Linked DNA regions of Homo sapiens: region 2 is linked to region 1. Evidence: promoter capture Hi-C in human tissues and cell types (Jung and others, 2019). All regions are on one chromosome and are shown on one strand. The core of a region is centred on a gene start or on the middle of the fragment in contact, and the rest is flanking DNA. Distances in the headings are between cores, read along the strand shown.

Region 1 (6,160 bases), core at 1,565-4,064:
GCCAGCCAGGCTAGCCAATGAGGCAGCTCTGCCTTGAAATGCCTCCTCAAGGATCCAAAAGCAGCCAGCAGAGCCCCACTGAATTAAACATTTCCTGGCTCTCCTCTTTCCCCAATGCTTCCCTATCAGATGATCTCACCCAGTGCCCCCACCTGTGGCTCTGTTATCCAGCTGTATCTTACAGCATGTGTCCTAAGGAAGGTACTCAGATCCCTCTCAATATGAAGGCTCTTATACTTACACAATGTGACACAGATCCTCCTCAGAGGACACTACTGCTTAGGCATGCAGGTCGGACTCTAATCTCTCTCATTCACTCTCTATGTTCCCCGTCCCTGACCCAGGGGACAGAAACGACAGAAAGGAAATGATTTTGTTGCTGCTTTGAAAGCAACACTAGTGGGCTTTTATTGAATCAGAGAATAAAACCTTGTCCTATAGGTCACTGAAGTACGTTGCTAGATGGACTAAGCTTGTTAATCTTTTTGTTGTCCCTTGCATAACCTAATCAGTGTTTCCCAACCTTTTCAAAATCCCTGCCTCCCTTCCGCAGGCCAAACAAACAATGCATACCCTTTGCGGTTTATGGAACAAAGATTAATTTCTCTCCTCTGAAAATAAAAGTGTATACTATGCCACCTACCTCACCCTCAGCATTCTTTTCTCCCCTCTACTCCATGCCACTTAAAAAAAAAAATTTTCTGGCCGGCATGGTGGCTCATGCCTGTAATCCCAGCACTTTGGGAGGCTGAGGCAGGTGGATCACGAGGTCAGGAGTTCAAGACCAGCCTGGCCAATCTGGTGAAACCCCGTCTTTACTAAAAAATACAAAAATTAGCCGGGCATGGTGCCTCACACCTGTAATCCCAGCTACTCGGGAGGCTGAGGCAGGAGAATCGTTTGAATCCAGGAGACGGAGGTTACAGTGAGCCGAGATCGCACCACTGCACTCCAGCCTGGGTGACAGACGGAGACTCCGTCTCAAAAAAAAAAAAAAACAAACAAACAAACAAAAAAAACTGTGATAAAGTTTTTAAATTATTCCCACTAATTTGGTTTGTGTGAAGTCTATCAGGTGACAACCTATATTTCACTTTACTAGGGTCATTTGTGATATTCTAAATGAGCTTTGCAGCAACTTGTTCTTTTACTTTCATTCATCTCAGAAAACCGACAAAATTTGATTTCCGGTGGCTGATAAACCTGAATTTGATACCCCTAACAAATTTAGGTGTTCCCTCTTAAAAAAATATATTTATCTTGCCTAGTAAACTGAATTCTTGGCAAGTGTAGGCATTTCACAGGCATGGGGTGTGTTTTAGAGGTTTGAAATCAGGTCATTTCCTAAAGAAACATGTTGTTGTACAGGGAATGTAAGAGCTATAAAGGGCTTTGAAGGTATCAGGATGTCTCCAAGGGACAAGGTAGAGAGACCCTTATCCATCTCATACCAGAAAGAGTTCTGAATAAATTACGTGGAAAGTCCAGAACACAGTAATATCTTCATAATGAGTTAGTTGAACCATTTCTTACAGAGTAGATTACCAGGTGTATCCAACAAATCAAGAAGTTAACCCGTGGAAAATTGAAGGGACTTTTTATGTTTGCCTATGAGCTGTCTGGGGAAATGGAGGAGAGGCAGGGAATACTTTCCATAGCTTGACCTGCTCTTAAGTTCCTGGACATACCTTCCCCTTTTTAAAGTATGATTTAAAGGCAACAATCCATCTCCCCCGGACTCCCATACAAACCTCTTTTGGCAGCCAAATGGTCTTCATCGAGCACACACTTTTCAAAGAATTAAGGACGTGTGAGTAGGTTTAGTTTAGACCCTGCCTTCCCTCTCCCCACAACCCAGTAACATGCTGAAAATAAGTAATAACCTTCCTGGGTACCCCCAGAAAAACCTGTTTGCAGAAACTACAACCTTTCCTCCGAAAAAAACCCCTATCTTCTTAAGGAAGAATCTCAGTGTGGTGGTCTGCAGTTCACTGCAGGCATTTCCCTCCTCACCATTTACCAGTCATCAGTTACGCTGCATCTGAAATTGGTTTTTGTAGACTTTCATTTAGACCGGCTCCACCGGTGCCCAACTGCTTAAAAAAAAAAATAGCCCCTGAACCAATCTCTGGATTCCTCCAGCAGGCTCAAAGCGTTCAATTTCGCTGCAACTCTGGGGTGAAAACCGCCAGGTCCAGCCGGCAGAGCAACCTCCCGGGCAGCACGGAGGCTCCGTCCCCGGCGAGGCCGCCGGCACCTAGGCAGGAGGGCTCTTCGCACAGCTGCGCTAGGAATTCGGCTCCGCTCGCGGCCGCAGGATTAGTTCGAGTCCCTCGGGCTGGCCAAAGTGACACTACATTTCTTCTTCTTCGTTTCCCCATGTGACAGGTCCCCCTGCATTAAAGCCACCTCCTCCTCGGCCCCAGCCCAGGTCCAGCGCTCCTGACGCCCGCGCCCCATCACCCGCACCCTCCACCTGGGGAGGGGGTTCATGCCAGCAACCCTCCAGGCGGGAAACAAAGGCGGAGGCAGGGCTGCCAGGTGGGCAACTCCCCTCGGGCAGACCCGTCACGCAGTGGGGAGGATGGGAAGGTGCCTGAGAGGATAGGAAAAGGGAAACCAAGGCAACCGGGGCTGCATCCTCCCTGAAGCTGGGCTCCCGGGGCAAGCTGACCCCACACCTCCCCGAGCCCCGCCCAGCCCAGCCTAACCCGCTTGCCGGGACCCAGCATGGGAAGGACTGGGGGGACGCCCCGGAGCGCCGCTTACCTCGGGAGAAGCGCTCCGGCTCCCTCCGACGGCTCAGGAGAAAGCCCCACCGCTCGCGCACGCGCTCTCGCGCACTCGCGCCTTCGCCCCTCGGGCCCCCGCGCGCGCCCCTCCGACCAGGCTCTGGCCCGCCCCGGCCTTGTCCGTCAGCGTCCGCGACAGCCAATCCGGTCGCACGGAAGGCTCAGCGCCGGTCACGTGGTGAGACCAGCCAATCACCAAATTGCCCTCGGCAGCGCCCGCTCCGATGTCTCTGGGGGTTCGGTTGCTACCTAGCAGAGCGGGTGCGAGGCGGGCACAAAGGGTCTCTGTTTTCGGGGGCTAAGTGGCACTCAGTTGATCAATTACCAGATCAATTGACTTCTCAAATTCTAATATAAATAAGAATCACTTGACTCTCTTGTTAAAATGCGGATTCTGATCCAGAAGGTCTGGGGTGGAGACCTGAGATCCTGCATTTCTAATAAGCTCCCAGGTGGCGATGACGAAGCTCTTGGTCGGAGGATCACGCTTTGAATTGCACCTGTCCGAAAGTAATGGCTGTAGCCCCAGCTCCACGTAATTTGAAACTTGCACGACCTTTCTTGTCCTTCTTCCACTGATGAGAAGCGTTCCTGTGGCTACATGGGGTGTCCCGGTGATGCTTACAGTTTGGGCACCAGCTGAGGGAAGGTGTGTTTAATCCCCACATTACCCACCCTTGGTCTATGGAGCAGCAATCATGCCAACTTGGTGACTGGAGTGTGGAACCAGAAGTGGAGACGGAATGGCCATGGAAGAGAACACTGTGTCTACGTTAATCCTAAAGGGTTGGGCGTGTGTGTCTGAGTGGCGCGGTGCCAGACACTTGGCCAGAGAAGTGGTATAAGTGGTCCCTGCTTCTCAAAACGTAACAATTTGTTGTAGAACTATACAGGCTAGTTCAGAAAGAAGCATGTGGAGAAAACATCCGGGAAGCTAACAGTCACAGCACAAATTCAGGCATAAGCTAAAGAGGTTGTAAAATAATATGCCTTGAGGGTCTTAAAAACTGTCCAAATATTCTTCTGTCAGTAATTCCAGAGTCTAGAAGTTAGGACTCCCACTGGCCCTGTCATTTCTCAAATTTGACCTAAGGACTCAGTGTTTTCGGACTGGCCAGCTAGAACCTTTGTCGTTCAGCGTAGCCAAGCTCTTATTACCCAGTAGTGTACCGCCGTGGTTCAAGATTCTTAAGTGCTGAATTCTCCAAAACCTTCATCTCTCATCTCTTGAAACCAGGTGGTATAACCCTGCTTCAGCATTTCTCTCTCACTATCAAGGTGATCAAACTGTCGCTTAGAGAAAACTTCACCTTTGTCAGTGTGTCCTGAACTTCTCTGGCTTCTCATCCCCAGAAGTGAAGCCCACCTAGCAATCTCAGACATTGTTCATCACATTGTCCCTATCAGAGATGGCATCGCACAAAATTCAGAGTTTCTGGGAACATGTTAAACCTGTCACAGCAATGGTTCTGGCTACAGCAGGAGTAAAGAAATGTCTAAGCAAGAAAAATGTTTTGAAAGCCTCAAAAAAAGTTTGTTTGCTGTCATTAAACCAGTGGTTCTCAAGCCTAGCTGGATGGTAAGTATTTATGGAAGTAGGTTGTGGGGCCCTGTGCCTGGAGATTCTGATTGGGATGAGAAGTGGGGCTTGGGCAGCTATAGGTTTAAAAAGTTCTACTGGCAATTTGATATCCATCCATGCTTGAGAACACCTGCATAAGCTGCTAGATCGATAGACGCATTTTTTAACAGGGAAAACTAAACTCTGCAACACAAATCACTAATGACATACACACTCTGAAAACAGAAGAAAGTTTCCACATAATTTTTGAGAACTGATTTTTAAAGGCCAAAAATAATTCATAGGTAATAAATACTCCAAAGACTAGTCAATGGAATAAATTGAAAAGCTAGGTTCACAACTAGGTTTAATTTCAATTGATTAACTAAATATTTCTAAAAGAACGTATTGCCTTTTGTTAACCATGCCAAACTGATAAACTCTCTGGTAATAGCTTTACTTGTTTTATGCCCTTCTTAACTAAAACAGATTTCCATTTGAGCATTTATTTTTTATTTTTTAAGTTCCGGGGTACATGTGCAGGATGTGCAGGTTTGTTACAAAGGTAAACGTGTGCCATAGTGGTTTGCTGCACCTAGCAACCCATCACCTAGGTGAGTCTATTTCAAAGATTCCAAGGGTTCCCAATTCTCTTTACTGGCGTTTTACCAAATTCTGTTACTTTTTAAAAGTGATTAGTGCCTGCACCTTGGAAAACTATTGTACAACTTTTTTATGGTGTGATATTCAATGTAGTGGAATATGACCTACTTAGATTTTAACTAAATTAGTGAGATCCCTCAGAACATTCTACCAACACCAGCCATCCTACTCAAAAGTGACTTTATTTGTGACACCAGAAATATGGAAGCCCAATGTGTGAGCCTGCAAACTAGCTTCCCTCCTTCTGTGACACTTTTAAAAATATATTTCACAGCATTCAAATGGGGGAGAAATTTTTCTCACCTTGTAAACTTGCTTTATCTATTGAGTAAAACAAGGACAGTTTTCACTGCTACTTAACTGAGTAATGTAAATTTTTAACTAGGAAAAAAGCATTTATTTTTCTCTTTGTGGGTGTCATTATTACAGAAAGAAGCAACAAGAAACAAAGACTCTTGCTTGAGGATGTGAATTTGAAAAAAAAAATCCAGGCTGTCGTTCATCCTCTGTTTTTCAGTCTACTTGCCTCATACATATAACCTGGTTTTCCTGTCTTGGGAAATGGATATATTAGTAACTTGATATGAGTTAGCTCAAACCAGGTTTCCTACCCCTTAGTCCAGAAATTGCCCAGCAAGAGATTTAGGTATATTTGAAAAGAAAGAAAAAGATAAGATATAAGCCATCCACCATTTTGCCAAGTCCCAGAAATCCACCCATTGTTGTATTATTATTAGAACCCCCATAGACTGCTTTATAATTGCTAATTACCTTTTTATCTCTCTGACAATAAATAGCTTCTCTAAACTTAATTGATTTCATTCATGAAGACCGATAGATTACCCAAGGTTCTAGTCTCCATCTGTCATACAAATCCTGGCAGGATAACATTTTGTGTCTATGTATCTGTGTTTTAATAACTGATACTTTTATCCCTTTACTGTGACTGTGTACAGATTTAACCCAACCACAAGGCATTTTTGTAGAAAACTTGGTTTTCTTTATATTCTCTATAACGAATGTTAAGAATATTAATATTCGCTTTTATATTTTCACAAAACAATTTAGACTTAAAATATGTGTAGATAATATATACCTCTCTGTACCTCCCCCAACTTAAGAAATCAAGCATTATACATACAGT
Region 2 (5,839 bases), core at 526-3,025, 41 kb before region 1:
ATGAGAAGTGACGACACTGTGCTATGGAACTGTTCAAGGAAACTGTAATTATCCACATTTTATATCCGAGAAGTTGTTATGTGGAAAGATAAGAATAACTTACCCAAGATCACCCATCTGGTCAGCTTAAAGTTCATGTTCCTTTCATCAAACGACTCTGCCACCCAGAGGAGAAGCTTTAAGGAGCTAAAGGGGAAGAGGATGAGTTCCTTTTTCATGTGAAGAGACCCTACTTGTGTCTATCTAGAGACTAAGCTTTCATTCACGCAAGTCCTAGTATTTAAAAAAAATGGAGAAAATATCCAAATATTAAGTACTAGGATGAAAGTACTTCACACTGGGTACATTGAACTGTACTGGCTTTCCTCTAGATATACACTTTACAATCAGCATGTAGCACTAAGTGTCTACTAATTTCAGCTTCTGAGTGTAAAAAAAAACAATATATGAGTTGAATGAAGGAAATGAACACACATGTGAATAACCAAATATGTGAAGAGATATGAACAAAGAGCTATGGAAAGGTATATAGGATCATTAATTCTGACTAAAGAGCTCTGGGAAGGATTCCAGGGGAGAAAGTGTTTGAGTTGGGCCTTGAAGAAGGAACAAGGATTAGACAAAGCATTCCTTCCTTGAAGTTATTGTCAAGACCAAAGGTAACCAACATATGTCCTTACATGCAAAAAATATGGTGAAGATGTAAATGAGTGGCTTAGTTTCTGCATCATACTTTATGTAAATCAGTTATTTTGAGGCCTCTGGAAGTTAATCACAACTCAAAGAGTTTGAAATTCACCTTCACATAGCCATCAGTTCCTTATTCCTATTTATACCCTCTACAGCAATGAATGTAAAAGAATGGCAAAAGAAGGGGCCGCAGACAGTGGACATCCTGCCATTATCCCTGTTAGGGATAATGCTCTTGGGAATGCAGTTGAACGGTCCCCCATCTGTGCTCTCCTCTAGGCTTCTTTTTCATGTGTAGGGAAGCTTAGGCAGCTCACTTTAGCATACAGCACTATTTTATCAAGCATCTACCTTGGACGAGATGACAAGTAAGTATGTGGAAAGAGTCCATTCCCCCTAATTGTGGCCTTGGCCTGTAGCAAGAAGACATCTGTGCAAAACTTAGATCTCACACCCCAAGCATTGGAGTGAGGCCTCTGGCTATATAGAGAAAGCACTCAGCCTCCACCCAGAAGCTCCTTTACATGATGAGGCCCTGCCTTGAAGAGAAGGCATACCTAGCACCTCTGCCTCAGCAGGTAAGCAAGACGGTCACAGTCAAGCAAGACACACCCTTATTCCTCGCTTTCAAGCTTCGTGCCTGTCCCATCTGTCATTCATTTCAGAATGATACTTTGCTGGGGCCCTTCTGACCTGCAGTTCCTTACCTGCTGCCATAAACAGAATGTTTGTGTCCTCCCAAAATTCACATGCTGAACCTAATCCTAATGTGATGGTACCTGGACATAGGGCCTTTCAGACATGATTAGATCATGAACTCTCAAGAATGGGATGAGTGCCCTTGTAAGAGGGACTCCAGAGAGGACCTTTGCTCCTTTCTGCCACGTGAGGACAAAGAAAGTAGATGGCTACCTGTAAACCAGAAGCGGACCCTCATCAGATATTGAATCAGCTTGCCACCTTGATCTTGGACTTCCAGCCTACACAACTGTAAGAAATCCATTTCTGTTGTTTACAAGCCACCTAGTCTATATTATTCTGGTATAGCAACCCAAACGGACTAAGGCACCTGCAAAATAAAGATAATGACGAACATCTCAACAATCCCCAAAGAATCACTGAGAGGATTTATGTAACTCTGTTTTTTGAAAGACCCATTCTCTGGACAAAGTTCCAGATAAATGTATATGCATTGCATATTCCATCTCACCTGACCAGGGTTGAAGGCCCCTCTTTACACACAGGGAACAAATCCAGGAGGAAATAAATGGTTTAGTAAAATGCAGTCAGCAATTATGTCTTCCCCTTCGTAAGTCACAGCTATCTGATCCATTCTTCTAGAACCTAATTATATACCACCGGCACTTCTCGCTGAATTCAATATTTATATAACTATTATTATATTTTGCAAGTTTGTCTTCTCTTCTCAATTTAATGGCTGAAAGTTTCTGAAAGGCAGCAATCATGTTTTAAGCATCTTAACACCCTTACAGTTTTGAGCAGAGAATAACATGCAAAATAATATGTCAATATCTATTCGCTGGATAAATGATTTGAAAATGATCAGTCCCTTCAAAGTCTTTTTCCTACAAGATCCAACTATGATAAAATATATGTGTGTGTGCATCAGAGAGGGAAAGAGAAAGAAAAAAACATTTCATATTTAGTAAATGAATAATTTGGTATTTTGTGCAACTATTCTGACTGAATAGATAACTTCAAAGCTTAAAACTCCTCCAGTTAAACATCTCAATTTTTTAATTACTTCCTGCTAAGTTGTATTTATTCTTGAGTTGATTAACTACTTAAATTACTGAGTTGCTATCAATAATTAAAACTCAAAATATCACTAATAATTCTGTGGCCTTTCAGAGGGTTACAGCCTTGTAACTTGTTCATTTTTCTTGGACCCCTCCAAGCCTTAATCTAACCCTAGCCACTCAGCTCATCTCTACAAAGACCCTAGCCACTCAGGTCAGCTCTACAAAGCAGCTTTGTAGAGCATCACTTGATTGCCACAAGGGTATCAGACACCGCCTAGTTGTTTGGGAGTAACCTGTCTTCTAATACTTAAGAATTGGGTAGGAAGGCTGGAGCCATCCCTGAGGTGATATAAAATGAGTGCATGTCCGAAAGGACTGAGAAGAATAGGGAGGTATATGCCCTGTCGTCCACAAAAAGCAACTCAGGAGCACATATGTGAGTCACTAAAAACAAAGATCTGAGATATACACACACACGTGTGCGCGCGCGCGCGTGCACACACACACACACACACTGAGCTCCATAAACTCCACCATTTTTCGCCAAAACATGCAGGTGAGACAGCCTTGCCCCATTTTGCCATCCCTCCATCCACTTTGCTACATGTTTCCATTTAGGGAGTTCTCTATCCTCAAAGGCTAATTTTAGTTTGTATAAAAGTCTTAGTTTGGAAGACACACAAAAACCTGGCAGCATCTGGGGTGATCACTCTGAATGCCCCCGGGCTGTCCTGGGAAGACACACTCTGCCTGTTTCCTCAGAACACAGGCAAACGAGTCAGCCTGGGAGCAAGAGCTCAGGGAATCCTGGCCAAGTACCTATTTACTCTATACACAAAAGACAAAGATTAGAGTCCTTTCTCGAATGGACCATCTCTCCTGTATCCCTAAGCAGCAGGCAGAGGAAGCTAGCCAACTCAAAAGGAAGTTACCTGGCCAAAGGAAGACTGAAGGTGCAGGGGAATTTAGGGGCACAAACAGAAAAGGGAAAGTGCTTTCATTTCTGCCTTCTCACTTTGAGAACTGTGGAAGTAGTCTTCAGAGAGGAAAAGTGACCCAAATATCCCTCCTAGGGATAAAGTCAGCCTTTGTTCTTGCTCAGGATTTCACAAGATCCATCCTTCACCCCAAGAACAAAGTGGGGAGAGCAGAGTGCTGACCTTCCTGGGTCAGACAACTCACTGAAATGGGTGTTCCAGGGTGCTCTGCAGACACCCAGGTAGCCTGGACGCCCTATCTCACCGCCTGCCCCTGGCACCTCCCCTGGGCAGAACCCTACCTCATATAACTTGCTCCTGGCTGAACACCACTGCCATCACTACAATAAAAGAGAAAAAAATATGAGTAGGAGAATAACAAAGCACAATTAAATGGGCCCTTTTTCCTCTCTGCAAAAATAAAGCCCAAGACTTTAGGAGTATTGTTTGCAACAATTTATAAAACATCGGCTGCCTCCTCTGCTCACCGCCAGCACAGCCCCAAACGGCCAGGTACCCACTTGCTTACTTCTCTTGCCCTTTGTCTGAGTCTTTGACTGGCTCAGCCAGACAAAGAATGAGAAACAACTGGAGCCTTGCCCTCCCAAGTCCTTGTCTCTTTGCCTTGGATCTATCTGCTTCTTGGGCTCTAGCATGACTATCTCATGTGAGGAACTGAGGCAGTGCCCCAGCCCTCCCAGCTCAGAGTGCTGTCATTCTGGCTTTGATGTGGTAACTGAATTCTGATTTCTTGGCCTTGCACTTGATTTCTCTTCCTTTCGTTGGCTTATCCACAGATCTGGATCCCCGTATGTGACCTAAGCTTGACTCCAGCTAACCTGTAAAGGTGGCGCAACCCAAAGAGACTGAGCCCCATGGCAAAGACGGGCTAAGAAAGACTGCTGCCCATTGCCAAAGCCTTCCTACATCTCAACCCAGAAAACTGTCTGTTGGCCTTTGGCCAAATGAGGATGGCTGGGCAATAGAACTGAAAAGGTAATCAGTTCTAATATTCTCAACCTATTTACACTAGAAAAATCTGAGAGAATAATTTAAAGTGGAAGATTATAGGACATAAACTTTAAGGGCAGAGTAGCTTACTTTTTATTACACATACTGCATCTGCAATTTTTCTCTTCCTTTTATCTCCTTTCTGCCCTTCTGTTATAGTCAATTGCTTCTCCCAAGCAGTCCTGCCCAATCTCCAACATCATGTTACAGAAATAAGCAGTAAGCGACTTGGGCTTTGAGACCCAAGTTCCAATCTCAACTTCCAAAAGACCTCGAGGAAGTCTTTTTTCCCATCTATATCACGGTCTCTTTACATGCATAATGAGGCAGTGGCATCCTTGACTCCTCGAAGTGCAAGCAGAATGTTAAACTGTGAAACAGACACACAGAAGGGGTTATTATTACTATTATTAGGGTCACGACCTACTTTTATGGAAAAGTTCCTTATTTTTTAGTTTTATCAAAGCATAACTGATAAAAAAATTTGCCCACATTTAATGTATATATGTTGATGAGTTTGGACTTATTAAAAGTACATGTATTTAAAAATCTAGACCCTTAAATCCTCCTCCTGCCTTCCTCCTTACCCAAATCTCGAGGGTCCCCACATTACTCAGCACCACATTCCTTTGTGGATCATCTCCTCCTTCTTTTGGACCTTGGTGGTCTCCAGATACCACCTGACCCCTTACCTAGCAATCTTTCCTCACTCTTTCAGCCTCACTCACTTGCTTCTCCTTGAATGCTGTGTTTTAAAGGAACATCACTTGCTTGTGGCCTCCTGTCTTTGTCCTCACCCTTCAAATTATCTACTACTTCTTATTTGATTCACTGCTGGCACAAAGCAGGAGAATCTCCTTGTTTCCCACAGCAACAAAACACAGGATGGGCGAAATAGCTTCTGATCTTTCCCCAGGGATCTTTTCTGATATTTTCCCAGGAAAGGCAGATCAAAACCACAATAAGATATCACCTCACACCTGTTAGAATGGATATTATCAAAAAGATAAAAAGGATAGGTGCAAGGGAGGAGGGATTACAGCAGAGAAGGAAAAGCCACGGGGATGTGCTAAGGAGGAGGAGTGATGAAGGACAACAACAGAAAACTAGTGATGGTCTGGACTTCTTGAGGGTTAGGATTACTATTCAGTAGGGTTGTTTTCACTTGCTAGAAATCACAGCAAAATAGTAAGAAATGTTAAATCACTGGTGATCAAAGAAATGGCCAAAAAATCCCCCAAGACTTCATTTTGTGCTTATTTGCCTAGCAAAAATTAGGAAGCTGGATAATGCCAAGCATTGGTGGAGTGTTGGGGAAACAGTAACCCCCAAGAACTGCTAGTAGAGCGAAGTCTGGTAGAGCTATCCTGGAGAGCAATCCAATACTACTTAGTTAAA

The links. Contacts are between HindIII fragments. The study calls those that stand out against the background at their distance.
Region 2: a contact is called between a fragment that was not itself captured here and the fragment with the promoter of TMEM108 in region 1, in 1 of the 25 tissues and cell types used here (aorta).

The regions. Positions count from the first base shown.
Region 1 is chr3:133,035,045-133,041,204 of GRCh38, reverse strand. It overlaps TMEM108 (transmembrane protein 108), which reads right to left and starts at 2,814. Exons shown (of 6, transcript NM_023943.4): 1 at 2,770-2,814. RefSeq lists an enhancer at 2,826-3,120. The HindIII fragment of the contact is 13,936 bases long and covers 1-6,160 here.
Region 2 is chr3:133,075,270-133,081,108 of GRCh38, reverse strand. The region is part of intron 2 of TMEM108 (transmembrane protein 108); the gene reads right to left. Among named protein-coding and RNA genes, the nearest start is that of TMEM108, 40 kb to the right of the region's middle. The HindIII fragment of the contact is 3,118 bases long and covers 217-3,334 here.